6 separate regions of the Homo sapiens genome follow, and regions 1, 2, 4, 5 and 6 are each linked to region 3. Evidence: promoter capture Hi-C in 16 types of primary human blood cells and fetal thymus (Javierre and others, 2016). All regions are on one chromosome and are shown on one strand. The core of a region is centred on a gene start or on the middle of the fragment in contact, and the rest is flanking DNA. Distances in the headings are between cores, read along the strand shown. Region 1 holds the start of ZNF383 (zinc finger protein 383). Region 2 holds the start of ZNF382 (zinc finger protein 382). Region 3 holds the start of ZNF606 (zinc finger protein 606). Region 4 holds the start of ZNF793-AS1 (ZNF793 antisense RNA 1). Region 5 has its middle 2.5 kb from the start of ZNF790. Region 6 holds the start of ZNF461 (zinc finger protein 461).

Region 1 (4,857 bases), core at 1-2,500, about 21 Mb after region 3:
GACCAACACGGAGAAACCCCGTCTCTACTGAAAATACAAAATTAGCAGGGCGTGGTGACACACGCCTGTAATCCCAGCTACTAGGAAGGCTGAGGCAGGAGAATTGCTTGAACCGGGGAGGCGGAGGTTGCGGTGAGCCGAGATTGCGCCATTGCACTCCAGCCTGGGCAACAACAGCGAAACTCCGCCTTAAAACAAAACAAAACAAAAACAGAGAAGTGTAGGCTGTCATGAGCATTCTTGGTATCAGAGGGGTGAGGTCTCTCCTCTCGAGAATCTGTCCTGACCTCACAGGGAGAGCTGGAGTCACAAAGACAGTCACAAGCACCCCCTACCCAATGCTGCAGTCACCCAGCCACCATGGGGACCCACATAGACCTCCACAGGCACGCCTCACCCAAACAATAACACTATATATGGTCACACAATCATTGTCCCACATCTACCTTGAGGATAAGTTACACTAGCATATTTACAGACCCCTCAAACATAGCACCATTCAGAACCAGAGTGCTACAGATAGTCACAATACCACACGCACTACTGAGCCACACAAAGTTACAGTTCCCCCCTCCCCAGGACCCCTATTGAGCACTACACACAATCACACATTCAAAATAACACAATGACCACTAGGACACACATATCACCCCGGCACGATTACACGCACTTTCCAACCGCAGACACAGTGCTACATAAAGTTACATGGTCACACTCTCACATTCTCACGTTACTGGGTTATTTCTGGGTAGTAGATTTACTCAGTAAGGCATCCAGTACACTTAAGTGCTGCTAACAGTCATACAAACACAATTACACACACCCCTCAGACTAACACACAGTCACAGCCTCATCAGATTCTCTCCACACAAACACCCTCCACAAATGTCACGCAAAGTTACACAGCCACACACAATCACAGTCCCAACACGGGACACAGTCATACCTACACATACAGCCTTACATTGTTACAATTACACAACTACAACGAGGATATACAATCACACCCGCGCACACAGAGAGGCACAGTCACATAAGGTCACACTCACACACGGAAGCCCACGCCTCGCGCCCGCCTCCCCACCACCCCCTCTATCAGCCCGACCAACTCATACATGCCCGACACACTCATACATGCCCAACACTCCAGACCAGCCTGGTCAGTCCCTTCAAACTCCCATGCACGTACCTGCGGGCCCCAGCCGAGCCTGCAAGACCCAGGCCGCTCACCGCGCACTTCCCCTACCCTTGAGGCGGAGGGTCCAGCAGGCAAATGAAGGGGCTGCCCTGGACTCGCGGGGGCCTCTGGGAAATACAGTCCGGAGTAGGACCGCGCCGAGAAGATGGCGCCTGTTTTTTCGGGTTCTTGCAGCTGCACAGCTCGGGGACATCCCTGCTCCGCACTCCGAACCGCTACCCCGCGTCTCCGTGATCCAGACACAGGCTCAGAGTGAAACTGCCGTAGGACGCTGGCCCTGCACGCTGAAGACAATCTTCCTCCATGGTACCGGCCAACCCCAGGGAGTTCCCTGAGAAACAGGAAAAGGTCGCCAGCTTCGGGCCAGATGTTGACTAGAGCCGCAAGGATTTTTGGGAACTGTAGTCTAGAGCAGGAAGGGGTGAGGCGCTGGGGCAAGTGGAAGGAGGTCGCTTAAATGACTTCCTGCCCCAAGCCGACTCAGTGCAGAACGCACCCAGGACCCCGGACTGTACTAGGCGTTATAACGCTCTCTGAGAATGCTAGACTGACTAAATCGTCATTTTTGCCTTCATCCGTGGATAAGCCACATACTGTATGACTGCATTTATAGGAAATATTTAAAATAGTCAAATCTACGGAAAAGGAGTAAGTTAGAGTTTTTTAGGACTAGCAGGATTAGGGGGAACTGTGAGTGATTGGTAATAGCTAAAGGGTTCATTTTTGGGGTAATGCAAAGCTTCTTGAATTAGATAATGATGTTTGCACAACTCTGAATACACTAAAAGTGACTGAATGGTACACCATAAACGAGCTAATGTTATAGTTTGTAAATTATATTTGTGTGCATGTTTTTTAAAAATCAACTTTACTGAAGAATAATTTAGATACAATAAAATGCACTCATTTTAAGTGAACTGTTCGGTAAGCTTCAACGCATGTCTAAACCCTTGTCACCACCATCGTAATCAGGATATAGAATATTTTTTAAAATTAAAAAATTTTTAAGCATTTTAGTTAAATTTTTGTGGGTACATAGTAGTTGTATATGGGGTACATGAGATGTTTTGATACAGGCATGCAATGCGTAAGAATCATATCATGTAAAATAGGGTGTCTATCCCCTCAAGCATTTATCCTTAGTGTTACTGGATATAGAATTTTTTTTTTTTTTTTTTTGAGTTGGAGTCTAGCTGTCACCCAGGCTGGACTGCAGTGGCGAGATCTCGGCTCACTGCAAGTTCCGCCTCCCGGGTTCAAGCGATTCTCCTGCCTCAGCCTTCCGAGTAGCTGGTATTACAGGTGCCCGCCACCATGCCTGGCTAATTTTTGTATTTTTAGTAGAGACAGGGTTCGAGCTCACAGGCTGGTCTCGAACTCCCGACCTCGAACTTCTGACTTCGTGATCCGCTCGCCTCGGCCTCCCAAAGTGCTGAGATTACAAGCGTGAGCCACCGCGCCCGGCGGATATAGAATATTTTTATTCACCGCCCTCTGCCCCCCACATTGTTAAGTCAATCCCCACCTCCCAAACCCCACATCAGGCATCTATTGACTATTCTAAGGAATGAGCAGTAGTATCAAATTATGTTTTTAATTTGCATTTCCTGATGTCAATGAACTTAGCATACTTTCATATACTTATTTGCCATTCTTTTATCTTCTTTTGTGACATCTATTGAAAATATTCGGCTGGGCGCAGTGGCTCACGCCTGTAATCCTAGCACTTTGGGAGGCTGAGGCGGGCAGATCACCTGAGGTTGGGAGTTCGAGACCACCCTGACCAACGTGGAGAAACACCGTCTCTACTAAAAATACGAAATTGGCCAGGCGTGGCGGTGCATGCCTGTAATCCCTGCAGGAGAATCACTTGAACCCGGGAGGCAGAGGTTGCTGTGAGCTGAGATCACACTGTTGCACTCCAGCTAGGGCAACAAGAGCAAAACTGCATCTCAAAAAATAATAATAAATAAATAAATAAATAAAATTTTCTTATTTTAAAATTGGTTATTATTGAGTTGTAACAATTCTTTATATGTTTGGGTAAAAGTCCTTTGCCAAATATACATATTGCAAATTGCAAATATTCTCTCCCTGCCTGGGGCTTACCTTCTCAGTTTTTTTTTTTTTTTTTTTTTGAGACAGGGTCTTGCTCTGTTGCCTAGTCTGGAGTGCAGTGGTGTTAACATAGCTCACCACAGCCTTGACCTCCTGGGTTTAGTCGATCCTCCTGAGTAGCTGGGACTGCAGGTGTGCACCACCACCCCCAACTAATTTTCTTGTGTTTTGTGGAGATGGGGTCTCACTGTGTTATTACAGGTGTGAGTCACTGTGCCCAGCCCTCAGTTTCTTCATGATGTCTTTCAAAAAGCAGTTTTTACTTCTGATGAAATCCAATTTCTCATCTTTAAAATGTGCTTCATGCTTTCTGGTCTTTCTAACAATCTTTGACTCCTCTAGTGTTGTGAAGAATTTCTCCTATGTTTTATTCTAAAGGTTGTATAGTTTTAGTTTTTATTTTTGGTCTATCATCCACTTGAAGTTAGTTTTTGTGTATGTGAGGTAATGTTCAAAGTTATTATTTTCCAGATGGAAATTCAGTTGTTCTAACATCACATGTTAACAAAACTATCATTTTCCTCTTGAATGACCTCAACATCTAAAGTAGGCAGGATAATGTTCCCCCCAAAATACCCACATGCTAGTTCCTGGGACTTGTGAATATGCTATGTTACATGGCAAGTGGAATTAAATTAACAGGTAGAATTAAAGTTGCTAATCGGCTGACCTTAACATAGGGGAATTATACTGGATTGTCCAGTTAGACCCAATGTAATCACATGGGGTCTGAAATGAGGAAGAAGGCATAAAGTCAGTGTTGGAATTGTGTGCTGTGAGAAACACACGACCAGCCATTATTGGGTGTAAAGATGAAAGGAGCCCATGAGCTGAGGAATGCAGGCAGCTTCTCCAACTTGGAAAATGAAAAAAAACAAATTCTCCAGAGCCTCCAGAAAGGAATGCAGCTTGCAAACTTTTGATTTTAGAGCAGAAAAAACTCATTTCTTTTTTTTAATTTTTAATTTATTTTTTTAATTTTTATTTATTTATTTTGAGATGGGGTCTCCCTCTGTTGCCCAAGCTGGAGTGCAGTGGTGGGATCTCGGCTCACTGCAACGTCTGCCTCCTGGGTTCAAGTGATTCTCCTGCCTCAGCCTCCCTAGTAGCTGAGATTACAGGCACCCACCACCATGCCCGGCTAATTTTTCTTTCCTTTTTTTTTTTTTTTTTTTTTTTTTTTTTAAGTAGAGACAGGGTTTCATCATGTTGGCTAGGCTGGTCTTGAACTCCTGACCTCAAGTGATCTGCCTGCCTTGGCCTCCCGAAGTACTGGGATTACAGGTGTGAGCCACTGCACCCAGCATTTTTTTTTTTTTTTTTTTTTTTTAGAGACAAGGTCTTGCTCTGTCTCCCAGGCTGGAATGCAGAGGTATGATCACAGCTCACTGCAGCCTCATACTCCTGGACTTAAGCATCCTTCCGCCTAGGCCTTCTGAGTAGCTGGGACTATTGGTGTACACCACCACACCTGGCTAATTGAAAAAAAAATTTATAGAGAGAGGGTTTAGTTATGTTGCCCAGTCTAGTTTCAAACTCCG
Region 2 (5,101 bases), core at 2,570-5,069, about 21 Mb after region 3:
CCTACTTTGGGTCTGTTGCTTTAAGGAATGTAAAGAACATCAATAAACATAAGTTGACACACGTTATGTGATAAAAGTTTTGAGGTAATACTCCTGAAGACTGGAAAAGGCTTATCACATGTTAGGTGGAAATGACAATTAAGTAACCATGGTTAGAAATGTCTCCTAGATTAAGGAAGTGTCAGCGGGCTGACAGAGGACAACTGCTCCTACATGACCACCATTACAACAGAGATGGTCGTAAATTGGCTGTAGAGTGGAAAAGATACAGGCATTTTATCTGCATAGGCAAATGCATGGCTGCTGGGACTAGAAAGTGAAAATGGGAAACGGAAGAAAATGTAAGCTGGACCAAAGGAAGTAATGAGGTAAGCTTTGGAAATGTACTTTGTCTGTGGAACATACAGGTGGTGATAGCTACTGGAGGTTGAATATTCGGTTCTGACACTCTGGACAGAGGTCTAGAGTGGAGAGGGGTATTTGAGAGTCACTAGAATCACACTAAGTGTAGCCTTCAGAGTGAATCTGATTGTGCGTAGAGAAAAACGGACTGTGAAGAAGAAGAGAACCAATTAGCATCTGAGGAAAACCAGTATTTTAAAGGTTGGTGGATGAGCTAAAGAGGAATTTTCTGAAAGATATGAAAAGAGGACAAAGTACTGTTTGATCAACAATAGAATATTTCAAAAGTGGCCTGGCATATGGATTTCCTTCTCCTGCACCCGCAAATAAAAAATTAGAAGAAACTAAAAAGAAAATAACAAATCTCTAACAGCATTGGAATACTGGAAAGGTTTTCACTGGCAGCCCACAATTTGTAGGAATGGCTAGCAGACATGAATGAAAAAAGATCAGAGAGGAGGAACATAAAACGTGTTTCCTTTACAAGCCTGCAATCAAATTGCTATCCTAAACACCTCACAAAGCAGGACATCTTTCCAGAAACTAATGCTGGGATCTACCACTTCTATTTCCCAACGTACCATTGCAAAACCTAGGCTAGCGGAGATCATCAAGGTTTTTCCACGTCTGCTCCATGACTACTCACAGCTTAGGTCTCAAATCAGCATCAGGACAAGTTAAATTCATTCAAGCCATATATTCCCATTTAAATCAAGACAATACCTTTCTATTCCAGCAGTTTGTTTGTGAGAAGACTGAGAAAGGAGATGATGAATGATATACCCAATGAATATGTACAACCAGAAGGTACACTTGGGGAAGGCTTAAGTTGATTTGGTTGGAATGGAGAAATTGTGAACAGGGCTGGATACAGGGTGAGGCAGGTGAGGCACCTAGAATGCAAAATTTAGGAGGGCACAGCCCTGAGGGTACCCCTTAAATATTTCACCTCATGCCACTTGCCTGCCTCAGCCTAATCTGGCCCTGACTGAAGACTAATTTCATGGAAGCAAATCCCAATATCAGGGAAGGTTAAAGGACAGTGAAGCTCATGTTCATACACCATGAAAAAAAGTTATTTCAGAAAGAGAGGAAACATCATCTCACCTGAGACATGGCTTTGAGATTTCTAGATGAACTTTCTCTTTTGAGCTCCTCTTTTGGAAAAAGAAACAGTCCTGAGAAAGCAAAGATGGAGGATATACGTATGTGAGACCATACTTGACTCAGAACTCCCAGAATTAACTCAGTTAAATCTGCATGAATGTTCACTATTTCAGCACTTGTCCACCCTGTGTACCCTTCAGATGTCCAGGATGGTAGTTAGTGGGAAAACAGACAAATCAGGCTCCCTCACAAACACCAGAAACCCAGTCTCTTGGTAAAGTATACAGGATTCTGGGGAACCTGTTTTAGCTTGAAGAGAGGGAACACTGTGTTTTTCCCTCTGCAGCTCTGCCTTCCATCTACCTCTAACCACAGGTTTACTGTGTATTTCCAAACGGTTCTTCTTGGACTTTTTGCCAATTTACACTGATAGTAGTGGATGAGAATACCTTCCCAAGCCCTGATGAAGACAGTTGACAACTTTTAAATCTTTGCCTATCTGGTCTATGTTGTAGTTGAGAATAATCTTTTTTTTTTTTTTTTTTGAGACAGAGTTTCACTCTTGTTGCCCAGGCTGGAGTGCAATGGTACAATCTTGACTGACCGCAACCTCCACCTCCCGGGTTCAAGCGATTCTCCTGCCTCAGCCTCCTGAGTAGCTGGGATTACAGGCATGCACCACCATGCCCGGCTAATTTTGTATTTTTAGTAGAGATGGGGTTTCTCCATGTTGGTCAGGCTGGTCTCGAATTCTCGATCTCAGGTGATCTGCCCACCTTGGCCTCCCAAAATGCTGGGATTACAGGCATCAGTCACTGCACCAGGCCCGCAAAATAACTATTTTAATTACTACAGTGAGACTGGACTTATTAAAAATCTATCAAATACTTTTTATTATCTTAGCAAGCCTAAGGGAGTAGGAAACCTCACTCATATACAAGTGTTGAAAGTGGTAGTTATGCCAGGCACAGTGGCTCACACCTGTAATCCCAGTACTTTGGCAGGCCGAGGGGGCGGGGGGAGGGGATCACTTGAGGTCAGGAGTTCAAGACCAGCCTGGGCAACATGGTGAAACCCCATCTCTACTAAAAATACAAAAACTAGCCGAGCGTGGTGGCACAAGCCTGTAGTCCCAGCTACTCAGGAAGCTGGGGCAGGAGAATCACTTGAACTTCAGAGGTAGAGGTGGCAGTGAGCAGAGATCATGCCACTACACTCCAGCCTGGGCAAAAGAGCAAGACCTTGTCTTAAAACAAACAAAAAACAACAACAAAAGTGGTAGTTATGGTAAAAAAAAAAAAAAAAAAAAAATTTCCTGCATGTCCCCAATGGAATGCTATTCATTTCAACATACTGGTTTTAGTTAATATGGTGTTTCCAGGAAATGAATCTGGGAATTATGAAAATCATCTCTTCCCCTCTGATACTGTTATCTCTATTTTATTTGCTAAATTGCTACTTAGTTACAGTTTTGGAGGCAGGCTTAATGGCTACTATTCAGATAATCAAGTCTTACATAACCAACTAGCCATGGTCATAACAGAGTTCCTCAATCATTCAAATATTTAGGTCACTAAGGCCACAAAACCACCAGAAGTAACAGTAGGTTACAAACACATGCAGAGTCACAGTCAATCAAACATCCTTCAGAGAACCACCAACCTACAGGCCCCACTTGTCATTCACAACCTCAGACAGCAGCTAACACGACTCCAGGCAGTCACAACCACACCTACAAATCACTTGCAATTCTCCACACTCAAAGGCAGTCTCAAATGCGACTCACACCTAATCTAAAAATAGACACACGCAGAGGAAACCTCGCGCAGCAACACTACTCCGTTCACTTTTCACACACAATCGGCCACAACATCCCAAAGAGAGGCAAGCACCTAAAATGCAGCAGGTTGGGCGCAGGAGGCCACCCCTATTCAGCGCGCGCCCGCGCGCGCGAACACACAGCGCCCGCTCCGCGCGGGGACCCGCCGCCAGCGATGGCGCTTCCGCGGGATCAGAACGGGCAAAATCCCCCTTCGCGGAGCTCGCTCCGGGTCACCCTCAAGGTCACGCCCATGGACCACGCCCGAGGCCCGGCTCGTACAGATCGGAGCGTCTGGATACCGCGGTCCCGGTTTCCTCCTCAGAATTTCCAGGCCCGGCTCGGACTCTTGGTTACCTCCCTGGCCTCCCCACCCGGTTCCGCGTCCTTAGACAGCTCTCCCGGAACGGAGCTCCCAGTGCCCTCCTTGGCCTCCTCAGCACCCCTGGCACCCACCAAGCCTCACCCCCGGCCCAGGGTGAGTCGTCTGCGCCTGCGCACTCGCGCGTGGGCCTGAGCTCCCAGGAGTCTCCGGGGCGGCCCGTTAGTCGCCGCGCGGTGCTAGCTGCCGGCGCTCCCCTCCGTTTGCACCCACGGCCGCCCTATTGCGGCTGGCACTACGCTTCTGCCAGGACCCCGGCTCCCTTTTCCGTTGACCTGGTGTTCGTTTTCCATGTGGTGAGTTGAGGTGACCCGGGTCTGGATGCGAGAAGAGCTCACGGCAGGGGACCTGGGTTCATGGGACGCGGAGAGGGTTTGTGGAGGCAGAAGCCCCAGGCCTGTGTGCAAGTCACCTGCTGGGGAGGGAGACTGTGTGATTGTGTTTGTGTGTGCCGTTCTGTGGCTGCGTCCGTGTGTGGTGGTGTGAGTGGGCGCGCCTGTGATGGTCCCGGGGGGGCGGGGGGTGTGCACAGCAGGGGGTGTGTGTGCACAGCAGGTGCACAGCCCGGGACAGCCCTGACTGTCCCCGATTGGGCCCGCGGGACTGAGTGGGGGCGGGGCCGTTTGTGTGACGGCGCTGAGCGGTGACTATGAATGTGTCATGCTGTTATCAGTGATCCTGTGACAGCGCTGTTGTGACCCACTGGAGACTGTGATCAAAACTGGCCTGGTGCAGCTTTTGTAGAGTTTGATTTCTGCAGTTCTGGGGCTCAGGAATACGTGGACAAGGTCCCCGTATGGCTCGATCTGTGTCTGTGAAGACTCTGAGACCTTCTGTTCTAAAGCATGGCCCCTGTCGCTTTCATAATGCATAATACACAGTGGCATGCAGCCTCGCCAACCTCTGGGGCCAATTTTAAGTTACGTGGTTTCTTGGAGTTTGTTATACTGGGATTTCTTTCACTGCCTCAGTCATTTCACCTTATAACCACGTTGCACAGTGTGCAGTCAAATGGCTATCGAAAAGAAAGTTGGATATTTGAGATCCAGAATGAAGTTTCCAACTGAAAAAGCACAGCCTTGTGTTTCACATGGACAAGGCTGTGTTCTGATATGCACAGCCTCGTGTTTGATATGGAGATGTTAGAGCTGGAATTGCTCCCAAGGCAAGGTTCTGGGAAGATATGATATTGAGGCCCCAGGAGTAGGATTCGTTTCTCCAAAGATTTTGTGTGTGTGTGTGAGATGGAGTTTTGCTCTTGTTGCCCAGGCTGGAGTGCAGTGGCGCAATCTCGGCTCATTGCAACCTCCGCCTTCCGGGTTCAAGCAATTCTCCTGCCTCAGCCTCCCGAGTAGCTGGGATTACAGGCATGCACCACCATGCCCGGCTCA
Region 3 (4,396 bases), core at 1,385-3,884:
GACTGTAAATGTTTCTTATCAGACTTAAAGAGTCTGTTCTATCACTAATTCTAGAAGGGAGGAGGGTATAATGAGGCAAGTCCAGCTTCTGCTTCCCATCATGGCCCGAACTCATTTTTCAAATTAACTTTGGAATGCCCTTGGCTGAGAGGAGGGGTCTATTCATATGGTTGGGGGGTGGGGGGCTTAGAATTTTATTTTTTGGTTTACAACATTAATCCATTCATGACAGCAGAGCCTTATGACCTCCATAAATCCCATTAGACCCTGCCTCCCAACACTACTGCACTGGGGAGTAAGTTTCAACATGAATTTTGGAGAGGATAAAAACATTCAAATCATAGCAGGGGTGTTTTTCTTCATCTGGTTTCCTGACACCTTTAGGTCAAAGGTATCTCTCTCATTTGAGTTCCCTCTCAAAAGTGAACAGAGCTACCTCATCTCTCTTTAGAATATGAATTCTAGTCTTATTTTATATGAACATTGAGGTTTGTGTAGCAGGTATTTGGTGATTGCATATCTTAAAACTTGGCTTCTGTACTGTATGAGACTATCAGTTACGATACGAAGAAAATAAAAAGAGAGTAATACAATTGAGAATTAGGGAGATGAGTCACAGCTGGCTGTTACCAGGATGTGACATCTGTGCTGTGATCTGGATGAAAAAAAGAAAACCCTGGGGCTGTACAAGGAAGAAGATTCCAGGAAGAGGAAACAATACGTACAAAGGCCCTGAAGCAGGAATGGACTTACCCTGTTTGAGGAGTGGCTGGGGTCCAGAAATGGGCAGGAATGACAGGAGATGAGCTTGAGGGACTGAGGTGGGGTGTGGGATAGGACAGAGGCCAGTCCTGCTGAGTTTTCTAAGCTGTGAGCTGGAATTTGGATTTTACTTTAATTACTTGGGAAGCCAGTGCAGAATGTGAGGCAAGGACCTGATGTGAGATCCTAAAAGTGCCCTTGGCTGCCTGCTGGAGGATGAGCTGTAGGGGGCTGGAGTGGAAGTGGAGAGACACTCTCTTCTTACTTCTGTCACTCTTCCTTCTCCAGCCTCTCTTTCTCTGCTTGATCCTGAGATGGAAATTGTGGCTGTACCATCCATAGATTGCTTTCCTCTCAGTGCCCACTCTGACTGGGTTCACCTTCCTGCCAGCTGGGGCCTGTCCCAACACCTTGCCCCTTCCACCTTACCTCTCTCATGGTCCTCTCCCTCGAATTCAGCCTGTCCTACTTGAAATTTTCCTCTCCCTTGAATTCAGCCTGTCCTACTTGAACTTTTCCTCTCCCTCTGAAAGGGCTACTCCCCTTTGCCCACCCACAGTGAGTGCCAACACCACCCAACAACAAAAGCCCAACCCACAGGCCAGCTTTTTAAAATGATCCTCCATTACTAGTGGAAATATCTTCAAAATCTCTCTTGCCCACTGCTCACTCAAGTCTAGCTTCCTAAATGGCCATGCTTTCTTTGGTATCACCACCTACAGTCCCTCAGTCCCTTTTTTTGAGACAGAGTCTTGCCCTGCTGCCCAGGCTGGAGTGCAATGGCTTGATCTCGGCTTACTGTAGCCTCCGCTTCCCGGGTTCAAGCGATTCTCCTGCCTCAGCCTCCCAAGTAGCTGGGTACAGGTGCCCTCCACCAAGCCCGGCTAATTTTTGGTATTTTTAGTAGAGACGAGGTTTTATCATGTTGCCCAGACTGGTCTCGGAACTCCTGACCTCAGGCGATCCACCTGCCTTGGCCTCCCAAAGTGCTGGGATTACAGCTGTGAGCCACCGCGCCCGGCCCGTTTTTGTTTGTTTTAATGCCGGGTCTTGCTCTGTTGCCCAGGCTGAAGTGCAGTGGTGCGATCATAGCTCACTGCAACCTTGACCTCCCAGGCTCAAGCAATCCTTCCACCGCAACCTCCTAAGTAGCGGGGACTACAGGCGCGCGCCATCACACCGGGCTAATTTTTGTATTTTTTTTGTAGAGATGTGGTCTCGCTATGTTGCCCAGGGTGGTGTCGAACTCCTGAACTCAACTGATCCTCCCGCCACAGCTTCCCGAAGTGCTGGGACTACAGGAATGAGCCACCGCTCCCGAACCGCTCCATGCATATCGATAGAGGAAAACTCACAGGGTGCGTCGCTGGTAACCCATGCTCCCATAAAGCCTGGCCTCTGGAAAGAGACTTGGGAACGAGCCCTGACGTTCTCAGCCGTCGAGCTTCACAGAGAAGGGTAGCTCGAATTAGGTTCCTTATCTTAAAGAGAATAACAGCAGTCACTTTCTCACAATCTTGCGAACGCCAAATGGAAGGATCCCTCGAGAGCGCTGAGAACTCGCCGAGCTCCTCCCGGGAAACCCGGTACCACGAGGCGCCATTTTGCGGATGGGCAAACCGAGGCCCGCGGGGCCGCGACTTACCCAGGCCTTTTTGCAGTGGGAGGCGACGGTGGAGGAGGGTGGTCTGGGACCGGGACAACAAAGTCCATCCTGCCGCCGGCTTCGACGCAGGTGCCAGAAAGGTCCCAACCCCGCCCAGGCAGGGCGAGGCGGCGCGGCCCAGGAACCTGTCATGGCGGCGCCGCTGCCCGACGCCGGAAGTGCCCGCCTGGAACTACAGCTCCCAGCAGACCCCGCGGCGCGCTCCGGTCGACGCCGGGGAAGCAGCCGCCATTGTCCGCGGCTGAGGTGAGGCCTTTGCTCAGGCTGTGGGGCCGCCGTAGCTGCGGGGCTTGGGGGGTCAGGAGAGCCGGCTGGGAGAGGCGGCGTCAGGGTGGGTCCTGCGCCTGCCCTTTCCGCGCCGGCTTTGCGCCGTCGTTGCCGTCGGTTCTCCAGCCAGCAGCCTGCCTCCGGCCTCCCGCCTCCGGGCGTTCTTCGTTTTCTGGTCGGACGGGCCTGGGTGAACTCTGCTGCACGTCGGCTCCGCGGGCCTTTGTCCCCGAGGCCGCGCCGGGAGCTCCCAAGCGCACTCCTGGGCCGGACCTCGGCGCGGGACAAAAGCCAAACGCCCCAGGCGGGCAGACCCCGATCCTGCTGCGCCGCCTTCAAGGGGGACCGCCGGCCGCGAGCCAGGTGAGGCCGGGACGAGCTTTTGCAGCGTCGCGGCCGCGTCGGTCTTGAGGAGGAAATTTGGGTCGGGAGCTCTGGAAGCAGGTGATAAGGATGCTTCTGAGGCCATTGATGGGACGAATAACCCCGTTCGTTCCCCAGCCGTCGTTTCTCCCCCTGCCAGTTCACACAAAGCACTGTGAAGGACGTCAGACCTGGGTTGGAAACAGCTCCGGGTTCCCTTAAACATGCAGTGACGGCGGCGGTCACTGTCAAGTTGCAAATAATGGTGCAAAGTACGGTTTGCATTCTGCGTTTTCGCGCTGATTCCGGTGCTCCTGAGGCCCACTGTGTGTTCTAGTGCTTTATACACATACCCAGGAATCCATTCGAGAGGTTGCTGACTTGTACAAAGATCTGGAACCTGAGGAGTTAGGGGTCTGGGCGCCAGGCCCATCTCTAAGTCCTCCACACACACACAAGCTTAGGCTTAGTAAATCTTGGAGGTGAATTTTTTTTGGAGGTGGGATTAAATTTGCATAACATAATGTTCACTTTAAGCACTTAAAAGTGTGCAATTCACCGGTTTTATTGTATATTAATAAAGTTGTGCAATCATCCCCATTATCTAATTTTAGAACATTTCATCACCCCACAAAGAAACCCTTGTTCCCCTTAAGCAGTCACTCCCCATTTCATTTTTCCCCCAGCTCTAGGCAACCACTAATATATGAGGATTGCAAGTTGATTTTACAATAATTGTCAGATTAATCCAAAAGTTCCATCTGTGTTGTGACTGGCTGTCTCTTGGGAATAGCTGACAAATTTGTACCCTCTCATTCAGGATCATGCTCTTTTTTCCAGCTTATGCAAATTACCTTTCATTTCTCTCCAGGAATTGTGTTACTTTTTTGACATGTAAATTCTCTTTTCTTACGATGCTCCTTACAAGTTTTTTTGTTGCTTCGGTGGATGGATTCCCTTCTTTGTTCCCACTTGGTCTTCTGTGAGAAAGGACTAGTTTTGTCTTTTTTCACTTTTGTCACTAGGTTGGGATTTGCTGTGTTCCTGGGCAGGTGCCTGGTCAATCAGTCCTCGGGATGGCAGCCATCAACCCGTGGGCCTCCTGGGGTGAGTCCAAGTTGTGTTTCTCCTGGGCCTCCCCTATCATTAGCTGCTGCAGTCATGGGTCAGAGCTGGTGATGGGCTGAGGACTTTTGAGGATGGAAGGGGGTCTGTCTATCTTGGTACAAAATTAGAACTGATTGGTGGTAAAGGAGGAAAATTGTTGGCATAAAAGACACTAACTTTTATGTTTTATAGTCATCTCCTGAGAGGTGTCATTAGTTTTAAGGGATTTTT
Region 4 (4,975 bases), core at 605-3,104, about 20 Mb after region 3:
TTCTCCAAACATTCATCACCACTGACCTCCCTCATTTGAACCCCAAAGTTTCCACAATCACCAATTCCAGTACCCAAACTATTACTGCCCACAGAACTTAGAACCTCCGATCACTGATCCTCTCGGGCTCCGATCATTAACCTTAAAGATCTCTAAACCAGTGTCTGAAAAATCCCAACTGACCCCAGACCCATGAAGACCACTATTACTGACCCCATGCACCCTGAAAATCAAGACATTTCACAGAACTCGCATTTATTGATTCCCACACACTCCCAATCCATCTTCTTCAGAGACCGTGCCACTGACTCCCGCAAACCTCTGTCCGCCACCACTGAGGCCCCGCGAGGCTCAGACGCCGAATCTCTTAACCCTTCAGTTCCCTTGTCATTGACCCTCACGGGCACCCATAGCTGACCCAGTCGGCCACCGTAGTCGGCAGCTCACTATCCTCCACTAGTCCCAGGTTTGACCGTTTCTCAAACCGTGCCTTCCCATTTATGCTGCATCCGCGCCCTGAATCTGAAATTGGTCGTCCTGCCACGCCGCCTCACCGCGGTATAAGGTCGTCCCATCCTGAATGGCCGGTGCGCAGACTCAATTGCGACTTTGAGGCTGTCAGCCGCCACCCGGCAACCTTCCAGTGAACAGGATTCTGGGTTTCTCAAAGCTGTAATTGGAGGTATGATGGCGACGCCCACTTGACTCCTACCTGGGGCGGCCATGTTTAAAACTGTGCCGTAAAACGGATGATTAAGCCCTTTGCTAGACCAAAAGATAAGGCTATTTTAGGACAAGGAGAAGGAAGTGTCCCTGGATCCCTAAACAGAGATGTCGTCTCTGCTCTTAACTCAGCATCTCAGATGCCAAAACCTCCTGTGGCCAACATGGTGGCGCCCAGACATCAAAGCTGAGCTTTCTTTGTCTCCGGCAGCCTGGTAAGATGGCCGCGTACATTTTTACCGCTTCTTACGTGCAATGGGTGCAGCCTCTCCTAGGAGCTCCCCTATGGCAATGTGAAACTCTTTCTGAGCCAGCTCTAGGAGTTAGAGAGCAGCGAAGAGACTCGCTCTTAGGGAGACAGAGACAGCCTAAGGACGGGCGTGACTTCACGGAAAGGGCGGAGCCGCAAGGAAAGGGCGGGGCTGCCGCAGCGGGAAGAGATCAGAGTTCTTAGCGCATAATGGAAAGGAAATGTTGAAAGCAAGGTTTTTACCTAAGGAGGCTTGCCCGAGAAGCCGACCTGAGGAAAGAATGAGTGCAAGCAGTTTATTTGGTAGGTGGGGGATGGAGAAGTGAGACGGGAGCGATGGGAACGAATATACAGTGCATAGGTGAGCAGATTAGCTCTGGATCAATGAGGGCTCAGTCAGCTTGGGACCTCTGGGGGATTGTGTAGAAACCACTTCCAAGTTTTCACAACCACCAGGCCGATGAAGCTTACATATGTCTACACCATCTCTCTTCCTAATTGTTTTAGGGCCACTCCAGAGGTGTTAAAGCTCCAGCACTTCGAGCCTGCCTCGTGGGAAAGTCTTAGGCTGAGTCTGTAGGTGTCTGCAGTTAAGAAGCCAGCGGTCTGCATATGATTGCTCAGGGGTGGTGGCTGGGTCCAACAGCATTCACTACAGGCCTGCCTTGAATACCACCTAGCGCAGTGCTCCGCATATCACAGGTATTGGAACATCTCTAGAAAAGATTGCCTTGTCTTATGAAAATGGCTTTTTAAAAAAATCCTAATTCCAACTGGTCATCCTAGCAACTGATACAATAACTGACCTCAAAATGTTTCCCAATGATTCCTACCTCCTACTATTCACACTCTTATGTAGTTCCCTCCCACATTGTACCAGGGTTGGACTGTGAGACTAATAGAATGCAGTAGCAGTGATAGATGTCACTGCTGAGATTAAATATAATAAATGGCACCTTGAGTTCTGTCTTAAAGGCTGCTGCCCCCACTTTGAGAGAAGTTAGTTGCCATGTCATGAGGATACCGAGACAGCCTATGGAGAGGCCCAGGTAGCAAGGAACTAAGCCCTCCACCCAATAGCCTGGGAGTAGCTGGGGCCTTCCTATAACCAAGTGTATCACCCTTGGAAGCACATCTCCCAGCCCCAGTCAAACCTTGAGATGACAGCAGCCCCTGCCAATAGTTTGACTGCAACTGCGTGAGAGACACAGTCACAAGCACTCAGCTATAGCAGCTCCTATATTCCTCACCCTCAGAAAGTGTGTAAGATACTACATGTTTGTTGTTTTAAGCTTCTGAGTTTAGGGTAATTTGCTATGCATCAGTAGATAACTTCAATGCTGTGTTAAAATGCTACAATTGACATTTCTTCTTTTTTTTTTTTTTTGAGACGGAGTTTCGCTCTTGTTGCCTAGGCTGGAGTGCATTGGTGCAATTTCAGCTCACCGCAACCTCTGCCTCCCGGGTTCAAGCGATTCTCCTGCCTCAGCCTCCTGAGTAGCTGGGATTACAGGCATGCACCACCACGCCAGGCTAATTTTGTATTTTTAGTAGAGACGGGGTTTCTCCATGTTGGTCAGGCTGGTCTCGAACTCCCGACCTCAGGTGATCCGCCTGCCTCGACCTCCCAAAGTGCTGGGACTACAGGTGTGAGCCACCGCGCCCAACCCCATTTCTGAATTCTTTAAATAAAGTTCCTAAAGTTGCGAGATTATTCTGTCAGAGGAGATTATTACCAGTTTCCTCTTCTTCCTTGCGATGGAAAAATTAAAGGCCTATGGCTCTGCTAGATTTTTAAAATTTAACAAAGAGGTCAAGGGTCCTTGCTTCATTTGATTTAATATAAGTGGTTTATATGACAACACTTTGAAGTGATTATAGTAATTAATTTAAAATCACCATTTAGGCTGGGCATGGTAGCTCACACATGTAATTCCAGCACTTTGAGAAGCCAAGGTGGGCAGATCACCTGAGGTCAGGAGTTCAAGACCAACCCGGCCAACATGTTGGAACCCCGTCTCTACTAAAAATACAAAAATTAGCCGGCATGGTGGACGCCTATAATTCCAGCTGCTCGGGAGGCTGAGGTAGGAGAATCACTGAACCCAGGAGGTGGAGGTTTCAGTGGGCCAAGATTGTGCCATTGCACTCCAGCCTGGGTGAGACTCTGTCTCTAAAAAAACAAAAATAATAATATTGAAGTAAAATGAGTATTTATAAAGTGCCTATTAAATGCCTGATTGATCACTGGCCTGCTCACTTCAAGGGCTGTTCTTATTCTAGGATTAGACCAATAAAGCAGCCACAACTGGTAAATTGTCACTCATGAAGGCCGAGGGAAAGACAGCCTTTGAGGGTCTTTTGCTGGGAATTAAACGTTCTGCCTCAAAAACTATACATGTCATTTCCATTCACTAGTCTTTGAGACGTCACATGGCCACCCAGGAGTGTGATAGCAGACATGTAATCCTACCATAATTCTGGGATGGGAAGAGCTGGCGATATTTTGGAATAACATTAAAGACTGCCACAAACATTGTAAAGATAGTGTTATCATCACGCTTCAAAAGAAACTGCAACACGGGGGTGAGGTGACCTGTCCGTAATCATTCAGTGAGTAAATAAAGCAACAAGGATTCAGAGCTGGGTGTTTCTGTGTTATTCAGAAGTAAAGGATCATTAGCATCATTATTAAATTTTACCCAAAATTTATTAGAACCTAAATATATCTCAGCAACTGAATTGGGAAAAAGAAGACTGAGTACTCGAGTAAAAATAGAGGCTACTCAAGGAGCTGACCTCTTGATTGGGGAAGGAGTACACATGGAAAGAGGAAACAGGTAAAAGAAGAGTACACACTGTAGGACTCCAGTCATGAGAAACTCAAGAACAGGCAAAACAGATCTATTGAGTTATAAATCAGAAAGCAGTTGACTCCAGGGGCTATTTTTTTTTTTTTTTTTTTTTTTTCTGAGACAGAGTCTCTACTCTGTCTCCCAGGCTGGAGTGCAGTGGTGAGATCTCCATCTCGGCCCACTGCAACCTCCTTCCAGGTTCAAGTGATTCTCGTGCCTCAGCCTCCCAGGTAGCTGGGATTACAGGCATGCGCCATCACACCCGGCTAATTTTTGTATTTTTAGTAGAGATGGCGTTTCACCATCTTAGCCAGGCTGGTCTCAAACTCCTGACCTCAAGCGATCCGCATGCCTCAGCCTCCCAAAGTGCTGGGATTACAGGCGTAAGCCACTGTGCCTGGCTGGGGCTATGACTTCGAAGATAATTTAGGGGGTGAGGAAAATGTTCTATGTCTTGTTTTATGTGGTAGTTTCATGGGCCTACGTAATTGTCAAAGACTCATCAAAGTGAACACTTATTTGTGTTATTATATGTAAATTATACCTTCATTTTTAAAAGAAAAAGCATACTATTCAGAGTATTGAGTAATGATGTGGGCCAGGGAACAGAGGGAGTGAGAAAAGAAGTAACAGAACTTTATCATAGTCTGCAGAAAGATAGGACCCTGCCAAGGTCATCATTAGCATTTATGGCCTATGACAGTGTGATTCCTCTAGGCAGAGGAATTCGAGAAAGGAGCCTCTAGGCAGACTAGCTCCAAGGCTCTGGGCTAACCCAACCTGCAGTGACCATCAGCTCTCACCTGTTCCAGTGAGCTTATGCCTATAGGTCCAAGCCTTGAACTAAATGTGGTGGCCCTAGACACTGTCATCATTTAAAAGGGTACAGGGCCCCAAATTTGGCCTAAAAGGAGGCACAGCGCTTCCTTGCTCTGGAGCAGAAAGGACCTTACCTGGGCCTGAGTGTTGTTTGTTGTGGGGGAAAGAAAAATAGATCAGACTGTTATTGTGTTTATGTAGAGAAAGGAAGACATAAGAAACTTCATTTTGATCTGTACTAAGAGAAATTCTTCTGCCTTGAGATGCTGTTAATCTGTAACCCTAGCCCCAACCCTGTGCTTGCAGAAACAGGTGCTGTATTGACTCA
Region 5 (4,623 bases), core at 295-2,794, about 21 Mb after region 3:
GGGATCTTGGCCCATAAAGTCTCCAATGTTGTGTTTTTAGGCCCAGAAAACTAAAGTCCTAGCAGTCTGGATCCTTCTGCCCTTTGCCAAGAATTGGCAAATAATCCAGGAAAAATGTGGCTGCACAATGTCTGTGATTACCTACAATCTATAGTCTTGACTACGCTATTCCTGGTTGTCCCAAACACTCCTTCATGTCTTTTTTTTTTTTTTTTTTTTGAGATGGAGTCTCACTGTTGCCAGGGCTGGAGTGTGGTGGTGCGATCTTGGCTCACTGCAACCTCCACCTCCTGGGTTCAAGCGATTCTCCTGCCTCAGCCTCCTGAGTAGCTGGGATTACAGGCATCCGCCACTACGCCCAGCTAATTTTTTGTATTTTTAGTAGAGACAGGGTGTCACCATGTTGGCCAGGCTGCTCTCGAACTCCTGACCTTGTGATTCACCTGCCTCAGCCTCCCAAAGTGCTGGGATTACAGGCATGAGCCACCGCGCCCAGCCCCTCATGTCTTTTTCATACAGGAAAAAAAAGTTAAAAAGCTTTGTGTTTTTTTTTTTTGTATTATATCTGATTTTTTAGTTTTCTGCAGGAATACTGGTTTGCTGCAAGCCACTCCATTGTATCCCTAAAGTGACTTTTATAGTTTCATTCTGACTATATTATTAACTTTGTTTCATTGGATATGAAGGTGAATACCTTTTTAAATATTTAAAACTTATTATTTCCATGAACTATGTTTCCTTTGTCTGTCTCACTATAATACTAATTTTTTAAATTCTAGAAATATTATTCACTTTTATTGAAATGTATGAGCACTTTATATATGGTGGAAATTAGTGATTTATAAATCTCATATAGGCACATTTTATAATATTTTTTCCTGGTATCTATCTTTTTATTTCCGTTTATGCCCTTTGCACATTTTAAGCTTGAGGTTATTTGTTTACTTGTTGAGTTTTGAAGGTTCTCTATATATTCTGGATACAAGTCCTCTGCCTGATATATGATTTACAAATATTTTCTCCCAATCTATCCCATGTCTTTCTCCTTAACGGTGTTACTTCAATAGCAGACGTTTACATTTTCTATGAAGTCCAGTATATCAAGTTGTTCTTTTATGGATTGTGCTTTTGTTGTCATGTCTAAGAACCCTTCATCTAACTGCAGGTCATGTACACTTTCTTTTATGTGTTCCTAAAAAAGTTTTATAGGCTAGGAGTGGTGGTTCATGCCTGTAATCCAAGCACTTTGGGAGGCAGAGGCGGGAGGGGCGCTTCAGGCCAGGAGTTTGAGACCAGCCAGGGCAACATAGTGAAACCTTGTCTCTACAAAAAAAAATAATAATAACTTCTCCCCTCCCCCCACCCCCCACCCCGAGATGGAGTCTTGCTATGTCCTCCAGGCTGCAGTGCAGTGGTGTGATCTCGGCTCACTGCAACTTCCACTTCCTGGGTTCAAGCAATTCTCCCTGCCTTACCACATCCAGCTAATTTTTGTATTTTTTAGTAGAGATGGGATTTCGCCATGTTGGACAGGCTGGTCTTGAACTCCTGATCTTAGGTGATCCGCCTGCCTTGGCCTAAAAATATATATATATATTTTTTGAGATGGAGTCTTGCTCTGTTGCCCAGGCTGGAGTGCAGTGGTGTCATCTCAGCTCACTGCAACCTCCATTCCCCAGGTTGAAGAGGTTCTCATGTCTCAGCCTCCTGAGTAGCTGGGATTACAGGCACGAGCCACCATACCCAGCTAATTTTTGTATTTTTAGTAGAGATGGGGTTTCACCACATTGGCCAGGCTGGTCTCAAACTCCTGACCTCATGCGATCCACCTGCCTTGGCCTCCCACAGTGCTGGGATTACAGGCATGACCCACCGTGCCCAGCCTGTTCCTTCCATTAATCTATCTTTCTGTCCTTCACCAAAAACACACTGTCTTGATTACTTAGGGCATCTCAACCTTGGACCATTATTTGGGACTGGATAATTCTTTGTTGTGGCAAGCTATCCTGTGCTTGTAGTGTATTTAGCAGCTTCCCTGACCTCTGTCCTCTAAATGCAAATTGTACCTCTCCAGTTGTGACTACCAAGAACTTCATACTGTGCTGTATATCTCCTGGAGAACAAAATCACCTCTGGTTGAAAAACATTATGGTAAAGCTTTGAAAATATTAATAATATTTTAAATTCCTTTTTAGATAGTTCCAACATCTACATCATATCTTTTTCTTTTCTTTTAATTTTTGAGGTAGGGTCTTGCTTTGTTGCCCAGGCTAGAGTGCAGTGGTGCAATCACAGTTCACTGCAGCCTCAAGCTCCTGGGGAGATCCTACCTGAGTCTACCTCTATTTGTTTGTTGTTGCTTTTTGCTTTTATGTCTTGAGTGTCATGATTTTTCTTGCCTTTTCATGTGTCTTGTAATTTGATGTTGCTGAAAACCATACATCTTTAGGACAGTAGTGAGCAGAAATTAGTTAACATAGCAGGTCTGAGACTACTTATCCTTAGAAAGGCCTGATATGCGAGGTTAGTCTTTGGCTTGCATCTAGAACTTGAATTTCAGATTGGTTCCCACCTTCCTAATAAGTGGCTTACTATGCCTAAACTTTTTGTACAAACAGTATGGTTTATGTTAAACACCCGCTTTCCTTCTGGGAATTTGAAATTCTGGTATGTGTTAGGCACAGACTGCCTATGTGACCAGCCCCCAATAAAAACATAGGGCACTGAATCTATAATAAACTGCCCTGATTGGTAACATCTCACATGTATTGTCACAACTCACTGCTGGGGAACAAATAAATCCCATATAAATTTACTGGGAAAGAACCCTTCGCAGTGTGCACCTGGTTTCCCCTGGACTTTGCCCCATGCGCTTTTTTCTTTACTGATTTTCTTTTGTATCACTTCACTGTGAGCCTCCCAGTGAATCATCAGAGCTTGGGCGTGTAGTGGTTGGTCTTGGGGTCCCCTGCCAGTAGTACCAGGAAAATGATGTTGATGGCTGGATGGGCATACCTTTCCTTCTGTAAGGCCTTTACTATGGGGTTTTCGGTTAATCCAGTTAGGAGTTTAACAACTAATCAAGACAGAAAATTTGTACAATTTGATTGCATTTATATACATTTCACAGCAAGATTAAAACTTTTTTTTCTTTTTTTGAGATGGAGTTTCGCTCTTGTCGCCCAGACTGGAGTGCAGTGGTGTGATCTTGGTTCACTGCAACCTCTGCCTCCTGGGTTCAAGCGATTCTCCTGCCTCAGCCTCCAGAGTAGCTGGGATTACAGGCATGCACCACCACACCTAGCTAATTTTTGTATTATTAGTAGAGACAGGGTTTTACCATGTTAGCCAAGCTGGTCTCGAACTCCTGACCTCAGGTGATCCACCCTCCTCAGCCTCCCAAAGTGCTGGGATTACAGGCGTGAGCCACCGCGTCCAGCTGAGAGATTAAAACTATTAAAGAGCCAAGATATTATTAATACCCTAAAGATCAGCTGGAGCTGGAGCTGGGTATCAGAAATGATCACACAGGTTATGTGCAGTGACTCATGCCTGTAATGCCAGTACTTTGTGAGGCCTACTTGGGAGGATCACTTGAGCCCAGGAGTTCGAGACCAGCCTGGCCAACATGGCGAGACCCTGTCTCTATAAAAATTAGCTGAGTGTGATGGCACACACCTGTAGTCCCAGCTATTCTGGAGGCTGAGGTGGGAGGATCACTTGAGCCAGGGAGGCAGAGGTTGCAGAGAGCCTAGATCGTGCCACTGTACTCCAGCCTGGGTGACAAAGCCAGACCCTGTCTCAAAAAAAACAACAAACAAACAAACAAAAAGAGAAATGATCACATAGAATGGGCATTTGTTCTTGAGATACCAACACTTGTGTGGAGTTATACTGAACTTACACATTTTATGCACTTCAAGTATTTTCTGTTTCACAATAAAAAAAGAAACAACTATTTTAGTTACCTGATAAGTTTGAAAGTACTGAAAAAAATTACTCCTCTGTCAGAAAGTTTAGATGTAGATTGAAATGATGTACATCTAAAAGAGAAGCAAATGAAAACTGGCAAGTGTGTACTTCAGCAAAAAGAATGGCATGAATGGAATTTACAAAACAGTACTAATGTTACTATAAACATTAATTGAAACCAAACACTTTAAGGGCGATTGGAGGATGGGAATAAGGTATTAGGAAGAGTTCTCATGGATTCCCAGACAGGGTACCCCTATAGGGCTGGGCATGTAGCTGTGTCCCATGGATCGTTTCCCCTTCGTTCTATCCCAGGCTGGTACTTGTGGGACAAGAGGTGTCCACCCAGCCGGGCCGAGGCTCGGGCAGAGACGGGACAGACTCGCCACTCGCTTGGCACAGTCTTGTAGGACTTTCCCGCCATGCCACATAGGTCAGAGGCCCACGCAGCGAGCTCCTACTGAAAACCATCGCACCATCCCCCCGGGGCATTTCTGCAGTGTTCCAGGCTCTGGACTACATTTCCCAGGGCCGTCGGGACCAAGGTTACTTCCAGCCTAAGATGGCCTGGGCTTACTGTCCTGTTCCCAGGGCTGGGAGCCTTTTGCAGAGGTAGGGCAGCCTGCATGCCTCCGCTGAAGCTTCCTAAAC
Region 6 (4,841 bases), core at 2,047-4,546, about 21 Mb after region 3:
TAGATCACAGTGATGTTTTGGATCTCCTGGAATTGAGGTCAGTTCAGAGCCAGTGTCTAATTTAAAACAATTTAATAAAAATGAAACAATAATTTATTGTGATAAAGAATGCAAAATGGCCATGAAAGAACATTTCAAAGAAAATATCTGTTACAGGGTAACTGTCTGGGAAGATGGCTGATATTCTTTGATGGAAGTTAAATAGATAGGAAATCTACTAAAGAGTTAATTGATTTGTGTAAGTGGAAGACTTCTAGGTCAAGTGAACAAAAGTATAACTTGATTCATAAAGACAGAAAGTCAGTGTCCCTCAATGAATACCCAGACTTGAGCCAGTGAAGAGACCCAGAAGCCCTTGAACAAAGGGGAGGCCAGGTCCCCTTAAGGAAGAGCACCAGTATACTTCCAGAAATTTATACTGTTAATCTTTCTCCCAGTCTTCCAAAAGGGACCTACGGCTTTTATTAGAGTGACTGTGCAGAGACCAACACTGAGTCCCAACATGACACCATTCTCTGGTGGCAGGTTGGTTACATCGGACTGCTTTTTTCTCACTGAAATAGACACTATGGATATGGATTTGCCTTCCTTATACAAAGTGCTGCCACCAAACTACCCTGAAAAGTAATCCCTGAAAGGTCTGATTATTTATTTTCCCCACTGTAACGTATCCATGGGTCCCAGATACCTGCATTCTCTTATGTAGTTACTACATTCATATAACTTCGCAATCTTTCATTCGGATTTTAATTCATGTCACATTTAAACACACCAAATCTCACATGATCTCCAACTCAATCATAATCCTTTAAAACATACACATCAACCTCAAAGCCACAACAGTCTAATCACATACCCCTTCACTGTCATACAATTCATCCAGAGACTTGAGCATATTCGCAAACCACTTTCACATAGTCATCCCTCAGTGTCCCTCCAGGACCCCTCCCCACCAACATACACAGATGCTCAAGTCCCTTATATAAAATGAACACGGTATTTGCATATAATCTATGGAAATCCTCCCATATTCTTTAAACCCTCTCTAGATTACTTATAACACCTAATAACCATGTAAATACTATGTACATAGTTGTTATATTCTATTTTTTAGGGCATAATGACAAGAAAAAAAGCCTGTACAAGTTCAGTACAGATGCAAACATCAACTTCTTTTCCCAGATATTTTCAACTGAAGGTTTGTTGAATCCACAATGCAAGACCCATGGATAGGGAGGGCCAGCTGTACGTCATATATTTCACTCTACTTTCTCTCTCACTGACAGTTTCAAGTGCAAACCATCTCACATACATGAATGAGAATCAGACACAAGCAGAATCACTTGTTCTCAAACAAGCACCATTTCCTCATATTACACTTGGTGATGGAGTTACTGGTCTCTCAGCAAGGTTAAAAATCCTTACCATGGATCTGTCCCTTCTGGCAGATAACATGTGCCAGCTTCCACTCCTCTAAGTCGGCTCTGGACTCTCACACACAAACATACACAGTCACCTCACACCGCTCCTATGCATACATCTAAGGTTCAGGACGCCCTGGTCCAGAGATCTGTCATTCATCCATCTCAGACCTTCCTGGTCGCAACCAGCTTCTTCCCTTCTCAGGGGCCGCCACAGTCACACTAGTCCTCTAATCATGGGTGGACCCAGCGCAAAAAGCCTCACACAGAATGTCACAAGATCCCTGTGCACGTGGCTGCGCTCCTGCAAACGTGGCAATCACACGGGTCCAGGTGGCCTCTCACATTTAAGCCACATCACGTATCACCCCCACAGGGGCCACTGCGGGAGTGGCGGCGCTCGCCGCATGAGCCCCACGCGGGCATATAGAACAGCCATTCTCAAAAAGCCTCAAAACCGTTTCACCACCCAGCGCGGTGGCTCACACCTGTCATCCAATACTTTGGCCACTGAGACGGGAGGATCGCTTGAGCCCAGGAGTTCGAGACCACCAGCCTGGGCAACATAGCGAGACCCTGTCTTTACCAAAAAAATAAAAATAAAATAAATCGTTTTGGCCTGACCCGGTGGCTCACGCCTGCTATCCCAGCACTTTGGGAGGTGGATGCGGGAGGAGCTGAGGAGGTGGAGACTGCAGTGAGCTAGGATCGCGCCACCGCAGTCAGCCTGGGCAACAGGGCATGAAGACCCTGTCTCAAAAAGAGGCCGGGCGCGGTGGCTCACGCCTGTAATCCAGCACTTTGGGAGGCCGAGGCGGGCGAATCACGAGGTCAGGAGATCGAGACCATCCTGGCTAACACGATGAAACCCCGTCTCTACTAAAAATACAAAAAATTAGCCGGGCGAGGTGGCGGGCGCCTGTAGTCCCAGCTACTCGGGAGGCTGAGGCAGGAGAATGGCGTGAACCCGGGAGGCGGAGCTTGCAGTGAGCCGAGATTGCGCCACTGCACTCCAGCCTGGGCGACAGCGAGACTCCGTCTCAAAAAAAAAAAAAGAAAAAAAAAAAGTTGAGTGAAATATATGACGTACAGTTTTTTGTTGTTGTTGTTGTTTGTTTTTTCTTGCCCGGGCAACAGGGCAAGAAGACTCTGTCTCTAAATAAATAAATAAATGGAGTCAAATATATGACATACAGTTTTGTTTGTTTGTTTGAGAAGGAGTTGCTCTGTCGCCCAGGCTGGAGTGCAATGGCGCGACCTCGGCTCACCGCAACCTCTGCCTCCCGGGTTCAAGCGATTCTCCTGCCTCAGCCTCCCGAGTAGCTGGGATTACAGGCATGCGCCATCACGCCCGGCTAATTTTGTATTTTTAGTAGAGACGGGGTTTCTCCATGTTGGTCAGGCTGGTCTCGGTGATCCGCCCGCCTTGGCGTGAGCCACCGCGCCCGGCCAAAAAAAAAATTTTTTTTTAAATCGTTTCACATACAAATCTCACGCGCTACACCCTCACCGTCAGTTCATATCCACCTTCTCCTCCGGAGTCACCTTCGGACACGCGCACAACAAAACACCTTTCTCACCACAACTCCACAAAGGGAAGCCGGGTTAGTCCGCGCCCGCCGAAAATTATCTTCAGCCACAGCCCGCGGAGGCCGCCTTGAGGGGTTCGGGGCAGCCACTGTGCCTATTCCGAAATCCGTCCTCAGCGGAACCCGAAGTCCAGAATCCGAAAACGAACATTAACAGGTTGGCGTCACTCCAGCCTCGGGTGAAACTGCGCAAGTGCATCCCGGAGCCCGGCGGAACACACCCGCTCCACCCCAGGCGCTCTCCCCTCGGACTGCATTTCCCAGAGGACACTGCTGTCCACAGCTACTTCCGGTAGGAGCCTCGCAGGAATGGTCTCCGGGTAGAGGCAGGTAAGGATGTCCCGGGCCGGTGGAGAAGGAAGAGCTGGGCGTGTGGCTTCGCTTGGAATCCGAATCAGAGCTTGGACCAGAGCCTTCCCTGAGAATGCTGAAGGTAAGAAATCCTGGCTCACCAGTGCCGCGGAAGGGAATGTCTATAGTTTTAGGCCTCTGAGTGCGGGATCAGCCCTTAGGTGGGTGTGTTTTGAATGCGTGAGGAAGTAGGGTTTCTCTTTGGGCTGTGTGTTACTGTTGGGACAGCGACCTGGTGCGTGGGTGTGCTTTAGTGACAGTGTGATTGTGTGCCTGATCATTTGTGTAAATGGGGTTTGTAGGTGACTGTGACCATGATTGTGAATGGCTATTTGTGTAAATCTCATTTATTTACGTGAAAGAAAAAGCACATTTACAGGCCGGGAGCGGTGGCTCACCCCTGTAATCCCAGCATTTTGGGAGCCCGAAGCGGGTGGATGCCCTGATGTCGGGAGTTCGATACCAGCCTGGCCAACGTGGAGAAACCCCACCTCTACTAAAAATACAAAATTAGCCGGGTATGGTGGTGCATGTCTGTAATTCCAGCTCCTTGGGAGGCTGAGGCAGGAGAATCGCTTGAACCCGGGAGGCGGAGGTTGCTGTGAGCCGAGATCGCGCCATTGCACTCCAACCTGGGCAACAAGAGTGAAACGAAACTGTCTCAAAAAAAAAAAAACAAAAAAACATTCACGTTATCCTCAGGCTCACACGATCAGGCAGAGAGCTTCCACTCCTCTCAGTCAACTCTGGTCTCTCACACACAGACACACGCACATTCACCTCACCCCGCTCCTGTGCACACATCTAAGGCTCAGGACGCCCCACTCCAGAGATCTGTCATTCATCCATCTCTCATCCTTTCCTGACTACTTGAGGAGTTAGCTGTAGATTTACACACACAACACAAGCGAAAATCACATTGCTACCCCGCATTTATCATTACAGCCTCAGAAAAACACCACATATGTAGTATGCTTATGTACCTATGTGTTTGATTTTTTTTTTCTGAGATTTGGCCACAATACACATTGTTCTGCAACTTCCTTTTTTTTTTTTTTTTTTTGAGACGAAGTTTCTCTCTTTCACCGTGGCTGGAGTGCGGTGGCGCGATCTCGGCTCACTGCAACCTCCGCCTTCGGGTTTTAAGCAGTTCTCCTGCCTCAGCCTCACGAGTAGCTGGGATTACAGGCATCCGCCACCACACCCAGCTAATTTTTGTATTTTTAGTAGAGACGGGATTTCACCATGTTGGCCAGGCTGGTCTTGAGCCCCTGACCTCGTGATCCGCCCGCATCTGCCTCCCAAAGTGTTGGGATTACAGGCGTGAGCCACCGCGCCCGGCCTCTGCAACTTCTTACTAAAAGATATTTATGTCCTTTTGTCTGTATTCAAAGACAAACTTAAGAATATTTTTCAGGATGTTTCCAGGTATGATTCTTCTTTAATTCTTACAGCACTGTACTTCAAACTAAAGACTCAA

What was found. Contacts are between HindIII fragments. The CHiCAGO score rates a contact against its expected background, and 5 or more counts as called.
Region 1: a contact is called between the fragment with the promoter of ZNF383 here and the fragment with the promoter of ZNF606 in region 3, in 6 of 17 cell types (total CD4 T cells, non-activated CD4 T cells, activated CD4 T cells and 3 more). The highest score is 18.6, in total CD4 T cells.
Region 2: the fragment with the promoter of ZNF382 here is called in contact with the fragment with the promoter of ZNF606 in region 3 in 2 of 17 cell types (non-activated CD4 T cells and naive CD8 T cells); the score reaches 8.0 in non-activated CD4 T cells.
Region 4: a contact is called between a fragment that was not itself captured here and the fragment with the promoter of ZNF606 in region 3, in 2 of 17 cell types (naive CD8 T cells and activated CD4 T cells). The highest score is 6.3, in naive CD8 T cells.
Region 5: a fragment that was not itself captured here is called in contact with the fragment with the promoter of ZNF606 in region 3 in 1 of 17 cell types (total CD4 T cells); the score reaches 6.4 in total CD4 T cells.
Region 6: a contact is called between the fragment with the promoter of ZNF461 here and the fragment with the promoter of ZNF606 in region 3, in 1 of 17 cell types (non-activated CD4 T cells). The highest score is 5.2, in non-activated CD4 T cells.

Annotation. Positions count from the first base shown.
Region 1 is chr19:37,214,607-37,219,463 of GRCh38, reverse strand. It overlaps ZNF383 (zinc finger protein 383), which reads right to left and starts at 1,250. Exons shown (of 6, transcript NM_001387601.1): 1 at 1,190-1,250. RefSeq lists an enhancer at 1,135-1,624. The HindIII fragment of the contact is 5,435 bases long and covers 1-1,939 here.
Region 2 is chr19:36,604,031-36,609,131 of GRCh38, reverse strand. ZNF382 (zinc finger protein 382) reads right to left here and starts at 3,819. Exons shown (of 5, transcript NM_032825.5): 1 at 3,785-3,819; 2 at 1,510-1,580. It also overlaps a transcript of ZNF529 not described here. RefSeq lists enhancers at 3,368-3,427, 4,408-4,547 and a silencer at 3,788-3,847. The HindIII fragment of the contact is 5,073 bases long and covers 376-5,101 here.
Region 3 is chr19:58,001,058-58,005,453 of GRCh38, reverse strand. ZNF606 (zinc finger protein 606) reads left to right here and starts at 2,634. Exons shown (of 7, transcript NM_001348022.3): 1 at 2,634-3,058; 2 at 4,084-4,165. The coding sequence starts at 4,135. ZNF606-AS1 (ZNF606 antisense RNA 1) reads right to left here and starts at 2,560. Exons shown (of 4, transcript NR_036508.1): 1 at 2,408-2,560; 2 at 2,118-2,243; 3 at 754-1,071. RefSeq lists an enhancer at 2,283-2,702. The HindIII fragment of the contact is 14,498 bases long and covers 1-3,519 here.
Region 4 is chr19:37,502,546-37,507,520 of GRCh38, reverse strand. It overlaps ZNF793-AS1 (ZNF793 antisense RNA 1), which reads left to right and starts at 434. Exons shown (of 3, transcript NR_110723.1): 1 at 434-682; 2 at 1,481-1,675. ZNF793 (zinc finger protein 793) reads right to left here and starts at 582. Exons shown (of 8, transcript NM_001013659.3): 1 at 555-582. RefSeq lists enhancers at 366-515, 81-872, 873-1,664. The HindIII fragment of the contact is 826 bases long and covers 1,442-2,267 here.
Region 5 is chr19:36,838,599-36,843,221 of GRCh38, reverse strand. It overlaps a transcript of ZNF790 not described here. Among named protein-coding and RNA genes, the nearest start is that of ZNF790, 2.5 kb to the right of the region's middle. The HindIII fragment of the contact is 1,231 bases long and covers 929-2,159 here.
Region 6 is chr19:36,665,292-36,670,132 of GRCh38, reverse strand. ZNF461 (zinc finger protein 461) reads left to right here and starts at 3,296. Exons shown (of 6, transcript NM_153257.5): 1 at 3,296-3,443. It also overlaps a transcript of ZNF567 not described here. RefSeq lists an enhancer at 2,990-3,119. The HindIII fragment of the contact is 6,595 bases long and covers 1-4,841 here.